Linked DNA regions of Homo sapiens: region 1 is linked to region 2. Evidence: promoter capture Hi-C in 16 types of primary human blood cells and fetal thymus (Javierre and others, 2016). All regions are on one chromosome and are shown on one strand. The core of a region is centred on a gene start or on the middle of the fragment in contact, and the rest is flanking DNA. Distances in the headings are between cores, read along the strand shown.

The links. Contacts are between HindIII fragments. The CHiCAGO score rates a contact against its expected background, and 5 or more counts as called.
Region 1: a fragment that was not itself captured here is called in contact with the fragment with the promoter of CAMK1G in region 2 in 1 of 17 cell types (neutrophils); the score reaches 6.2 in neutrophils.

The regions. Positions count from the first base shown.
Region 1 is chr1:209,842,472-209,845,703 of GRCh38, forward strand. UTP25 (UTP25 small subunit processome component) reads left to right here. Exons shown (of 12, transcript NM_014388.7): 10 at 112-224; 11 at 980-1,225. Among named protein-coding and RNA genes, the nearest start is that of UTP25, 16 kb to the left of the region's middle. The HindIII fragment of the contact is 1,380 bases long and covers 934-2,313 here.
Region 2 is chr1:209,582,435-209,585,425 of GRCh38, forward strand. It overlaps CAMK1G (calcium/calmodulin dependent protein kinase IG), which reads left to right and starts at 1,280. Exons shown (of 13, transcript NM_020439.3): 1 at 1,280-1,338. The region is part of intron 1 of LOC107985256 (a long non-coding RNA gene); the gene reads right to left. The HindIII fragment of the contact is 1,486 bases long and covers 907-2,392 here.

The DNA of each region.
Region 1 (3,232 bases), core at 374-2,873, 260 kb after region 2:
GTATCTTCATGAGCACTGTTTATTGTTTGGGTCCTGAGGTAGAAGGAGGCGATAGCTTCTGGTCAAGAAGGGGATGGCTGTCCACCTAACGCTCTTGTTGACTACTGGCAGGTGGCCGTGAGGAATGTCCCAATGACAGGCTCTATCAGTCATGTCCTGGTGCAGCTCCCACATGTCTTCCAGAGGATGGAAGCTGAAAACCTAGCTTCAGTGATTGATGCCAGGTAACCCACTCCTCCCAGCAGGCCCCTGGGGACCACATAGAGAGATTTGACTTGGGCATACAAACCTAGAATTGGATTCCATTTTGCTTTTATTGATAACTACCAAATCAGTTGAGATAATTGAACTTAATTATGTCATTTGTCAGAGGAGGAAACTGAAGCACAGAGAGAAATAGTGACTTTGGCCTAGGTCTCATAACTAGTTAGTAGCAGGGTTATTACTATAAATCAGGACTCTTTCACTCTTGACTGTGGCATTTTAAAATTATACAGCTTTATGCTACAAAGTGTCTCATGTCAGCAAGTTAATTGTAAGCCCCTCAGGGAAAGAACTATTTTTCTAATTGTATAATTTCCCCCTTTTTCTTCATTGTGTTTAGTTAGGGGACCCCAAAGAAGCTTAGTGAGGCTTAGTATATGGTAGATGTTCAGTGATTATTTGTTGACTGTTGGACTGAGTGACTGAGTGACTGACTGACTGACTGAATAGTGTGGTGTGTACTTCCTAGAGTAATTCTCTGGGATATAATGGTATTACATCTGTTTTTTACAATGAATAGTGTTGACACTTATTTTTTTAGTGTGCTTATCAAGTTTTATCCTTACATAATCTCTTTGAGAGGAGGTAAATCATATTGGCCTCTGGGGAGGTAATCTTTTAACACGAGATTGTAATTTGCTCAGGGTCACACAGTTAAGAGACACCATAAGCTTAGCTCTAGACATTAATTTTGCCCTTTGCCATTCCAAATCAGGTTTAACTTTTTTGTGAACAAGATTTTGCCACAGTATCGTGATGCAGTCATGTCTCACACGCTCATCTATATCCCCTCCTACTTTGACTTCGTGCGTCTTCGAAATTACTTCAAGAAGGAGGAATTGAATTTTACCCACATCTGCGAGTACACGCAGAAGTCTGGTGTCTCCAGGGCCAGACACTTCTTCCTTCAAGGAGAGAAACAGTTTCTACTTTTCACAGAGCGCTTCCATTTCTACAAAAGGTAAAGTGGTGCCAGGTTTCAAGCCTCCTCTCTGAAGGGGAGGTGCAGGACAAATCATGGCCTGCTCTGAATGCATGGCAGGCTTCGTGGTGTTGAGATCATCCCTCACTCTCGCACTCTTACAAAGTAGCCAGAGAGTTTTTGGTTTGGACAGACTCTTCTTGGTTGGTTAGTTGGTTTTCTCCCAAAATGGGCATTGCTGAAGAAGGATGTAGAAACCAAAGCATACCCTGTCTATAGACCTGGCATGTAGCTGTGGTTATACACTGCAAGAAGGACATTACAGGACAACTCAAATGAATACAAGGAAGGGGAGGGACCTTCCCTGTATTCACTTGAGTTGTCCCTGTCTAGACTTTTTCCCTCTGTTTGCCCTCAGTGCACAGACAAAAGCATTGAGAACTGTGTTTTCTGGGGAGATGGAGGCTGAGTACAGTGTCAGTTTCCAGACAGTTGCGGTGTTCCTGAGGTATGCACAGATACTCCCTACCAAGGAGAACTAGGACCGTGGGCTCCTTGACATTTGCAGGAGGTAAAAGGGTAAGGGCTTCAAGTTGAATGTTGAAGGGTTTCAGCGTTTGCTTAGATTTCCTACCAGGTGACTTTGACAAAATAAGTTGATTGGTCTTCATGTTATTTTTTTAAAAACTCAGGCCAGGTGCAGTGGCTCACACCTGTAATCCCAGCACTTTGGGAGGCCAAGGCAGGCGAATCACCTGTGGTCAGGAGTTCAAGACCATCCCGGCTAACATGGTGAAACCCCGTTTCTACTAAAAATATAAAAAATTAGTTGAGCGTGGTGGTGTGTGCCTATAATCCCAGCTACTCGGGAGGCTGAGGCAGGAGAATAGCTTGAACCCGGGAGGCAGAGGTTGCAGTTAGCTGAGATCGTGCCATTGCACTCCAGCTTGGGCAACAAGAGCGAAACTCCATCTCAAAAAAAAAAAAAAAAAAAAAAACCAACTCTAATTAGAGGGTTAGTAATACTGAGCCTTCTATTACTGTTTGGGATAGTGGCGGCCCTTCTGGCCCTAGAGCTCATGTATTTTATTGTTTTGCTAAGTCTCTCTCTGTTGATAAATAGAAAAAGCTTTTTTATTTTTTAGATTTTTATTTTCAATTTTCATGGTTGCATAATATGTAAAAGGCTTTTTTTAACCCTTGCCTGTAGAGTTATGTAAATTACATTCTGTTACCTCATCCTGATTTCACAATAATGTCCAGTGGATTTAAGTTCTGACTTTACTGTTTTATTAACTCACAATGGGTGCATTTTCTCAGAGAATCCTAAACAGATACGCCAGAAATCTCCCAAGCTTTGGAGCACATTAGATGATGCACTTTGGCATTGCATTACCTTTTAGTTTATGCTAAAACGATTAGGATGGTGCTCCCCAGATAACGTCCTTGTTCCCAGGATGGGGAGGGAGGCGTCCCAGCAGCTTGCCTAGGCATAGCAAAGCTGGCATGGCATGACCTCTTAGAGAGTTGAGGATTGATTAAATTTGTGTTTCCCAGGCTCCATTCTTGGCTACCCAGAGAAGGCTGCTTGGCCAAAGAGTGTTAATGAATGCCTGCTTGTTGCCCTCATTATTTGCTCTGTTCCAGTAAGTTGTCGTTTCCATTCATGTTGGAAAGTATTTGGGGAAGTTGCACTCATCAGGTCTTAAAAGCTCTTAGCTTTCTATCATCTTGACAAATGAAAGCAAGCCCTTTAAGTGAAGTGGATGGATTGGAAAACTTCCCAGTGTGATTGTCTATGGCAACTGTGAATTAAGCTGGGATGGGAATTAAGCTCTTTAATATCTCAGCAGCTTTTCAAGGACAGGGCATGGAGCCCTTTGTAAGCAGGACAGTCTCCTGTATTACACTGTCTATTTACCAAGCCATGTTGCCCTCAAAGTCACGATAAGGACAAATCTCAGCATATGCCATTTGCTTTATGCCCTGGGCCAGGTTAATTGGTGTTTCTTTTGTAGAAGATGAATGAAAATAATGTGCTTTAGA
Region 2 (2,991 bases), core at 30-2,529:
ACGAGTAGAAGGGGGTAACACATCTCAATGTATGCCTTTTAATATGGTCATTTTCTTGCCAATATGAATATGTTATTTATTCAAAAAACAAGATGACACAAAAGAAATGGTACAAGTTAAAAGCTAATTTCAAGGAACAAATGGAAGTGCATAAGAGCTGGATGGGTTTGGAAGACAAATTAAACAGGCAACACAAACAAAGCAAACCCTGGAGTTTCTCAGTTGAGTGTTTGGAAGATGGTAGCTCATTAGCCTAGTTGGGGAAAACAGGAGAGTGGGTTTGAGGGTGGCCATAACACATTCAGCCTTGTTTGTAGGTGACAGTGGGCATTTGGATGTTGAGGTTGAGCATGATAACCCAGGTGGGGTGTTGACTGAGGAGATTCTTATGAAGATGGTAATAGACTCTGTGAGTAGATGGTAACCTTAAGGAGAGAGTAGAGAAGGAGAAAACAAGAGAGCAGATGACAGAGTTTAAAGAAATCTGCACTAAAGGGACTGCCCCAGAGAAGCTAAGATGGAGACTGTGAAGCCTTGGTCAAGGGCCAGGTTGGAGAGATGAGTACAGGAAACAGAGGGAGCACAGAGTTTCCGGAGGAGGGGAATGATTTCCTGGGGTCTCATAGGTTAGGACTGAGACAGGTTTGGGGACCAGAATGCTGAGCTTCTGGAGGAAAAGAGACATATCAAAGATACTGAGTGAGACCGTCCAACTGAGGGGCCCCTTTTGGGACATCCAAGGCCCTTTCTCCCAGTTCTGTAAGAGATAACAAGCAAGGTGGACACTGTCTTCAGTCCCTACATGTCAGCCAGTGTAGATGTTCTGTTTTTCAGGGAGGTGTTTTTAGACAACATACACCAGCACCTGAGGGGTTAAAAAGGAAACTGAGGCAGACAATCCTAGAAAGCTTCTCTGATTTTTTTCTGTCATCACCCATTCAGGATAATGGGAACTTATAATTTGATGTTTTTGTTTTTCATTCTTCCGTTCTGTCTTTCCATCACACACATCAATGCAAACACAATTTCACATACACATGCACACAGACTCACACACACACACACCAGGCAAAAATGCACAAGCATTTTTCTGGATAAGACTCATTACTGCACGCTGGGAGGGAGGGTGAGCAGAGCCGAGGAAAGGAAAGAGAGATGCAAGCCACCCTAGCTACTTTTACTCCCCTTTAAGGCTGCGTGGTTACGGTCCTGGGAAAGAAAACTCCTGCATTCCTCCCCTTTAATTGGGTTTATTGTTAAAGCACTGGAGCAGCTAATCCTCACAGACCTGTAGGAGCTGGAGTGGGAGCTCAAGCAGGATTCTTCCCGAGTCCCTGGGTAAGACAACCCTGCTTCTTTTCTTGGCTTTAGAGGGTCTCCTTGCTTAATGGGAAGCGTGCAGCACCTAGTGAGTGGATTTGAAGAGCCACTTTGTAAGCAACTTGGGCATTTATTTCAGCCCCAGTTCCAGTCTTCCCTGACTCTTTTGGCATCAAGGGTGAGTTATAGCTGTCTTGGAAAATAAGTCTGAATGGGGGGTCCGGGTGGAGCTATCTGTCCGTCACTCCTGGGCTGGCTTTCATGGAAGCATTTTGCCCTTCTGGGCAGGGAAAAGGGAGAAAAATATCTTCATGTGCCCCTCCTGCAATGCCTGCATTCTAGGGACAAGGCTCTGTGCCTAGAGGGACCCCGTCCATCTGCTGGGGTGTTAGGACCTCCAACTCTCTTGCACCCCTCCCTCCTGCTCAACCTTCATCTCTTAACCTCTCTGACCCCATCCATCAAATAAAGTATGCCCTCTCTGCCGACCTCTTTGGGTTATTGGGAGGATTAGCAGAACCAATGGCAAAAAGATTTGTAAACAGCCTGTGGCTCTGCAAGCCTAAGGAAGACGAGTCAGCCTCAGTCCCTCCTGGAGGAGTCTGTGGACAGGCTTCAGGCTCCCTATCCTCAGCCGCGTTAAGATGCAGAACGCAGCCGAGCTATCGCTGTCAGTCACAAGACAGCTTCCTTCACCTTCCCCAGGGGCGCGTCTACCTCCCTTCTGTTTTTAAACTTCCCTAGTTTACCTCTCAAGTGAAGATCTTAAAAGGAGGTCTGGATTCACCACCACCACCACCCCCATCCACACCATGGCCCCTTCTCTCCACGTAACTTTGACGCACAAACATTAACCCTGAGGCTCCCGGAGATGGCTGCCAGGGCTCACGCTGGTCTGGCTGCAGTGCTTGTCTGGCCAGCCTCTTGCTCTGGAGTCAGATAAATTGATCATGAGGAAAGCCTCTGAGAAGGGTCAAGAGAGTCAAGCAGATTCCGCCTTAGGTAAGAAGATGATCTTTTCCAGATCATAAGCTGAAGACAGAACAAGGTCCCTGTCATTCCTGCTGACCCAAGCTTAACCAGAACCAAAGATGAGACCCACCTCTGAAACAGGCCGTAACACAGAGTGCTTAGTAATACCTGATATGGGGACCACACTTTACAGTTTATAATGTGTTTATAATTAATCATCTTTAGGACGATCCCATCAGATGGTGTGGCATGTATTATTTCCCCTTTAGTATAGATGAGACCATTGAAGCTTAGAAGTTAAAGGGTTTGCCTGGGGTTGCAAAGCTGGTGATGGTGGTGGCAACTGAACCCAGATCTATTGATAAATTCAGTGAACTTTCCACGATGCTGCAGATTGCTCTGGTGTGTGTGTGTGTGTGGATGCTTATTAAGAGCACTCTTCAGAAAGTACTCTTTGGGAAAGAAGCTTGAGGTTAGAGTGAGAAATGGTTTGAGCTGGAACCATGAGAGGCTTGGGGCAATAGACATGCTGTCCCCAGCCTCCATGCTGAGAAATCTGAGTGCTTTAGGGATTCAGCCCTTTCAAGATTGTCCGAGCCATGTGTTCCCAGGGTAATCAGTCAGACGTTAGGATTGCATTACAGCATCATAAGGATGAAGGTGGAGATGAGTGACATCCCAGCAACTGCCACCAGGAAA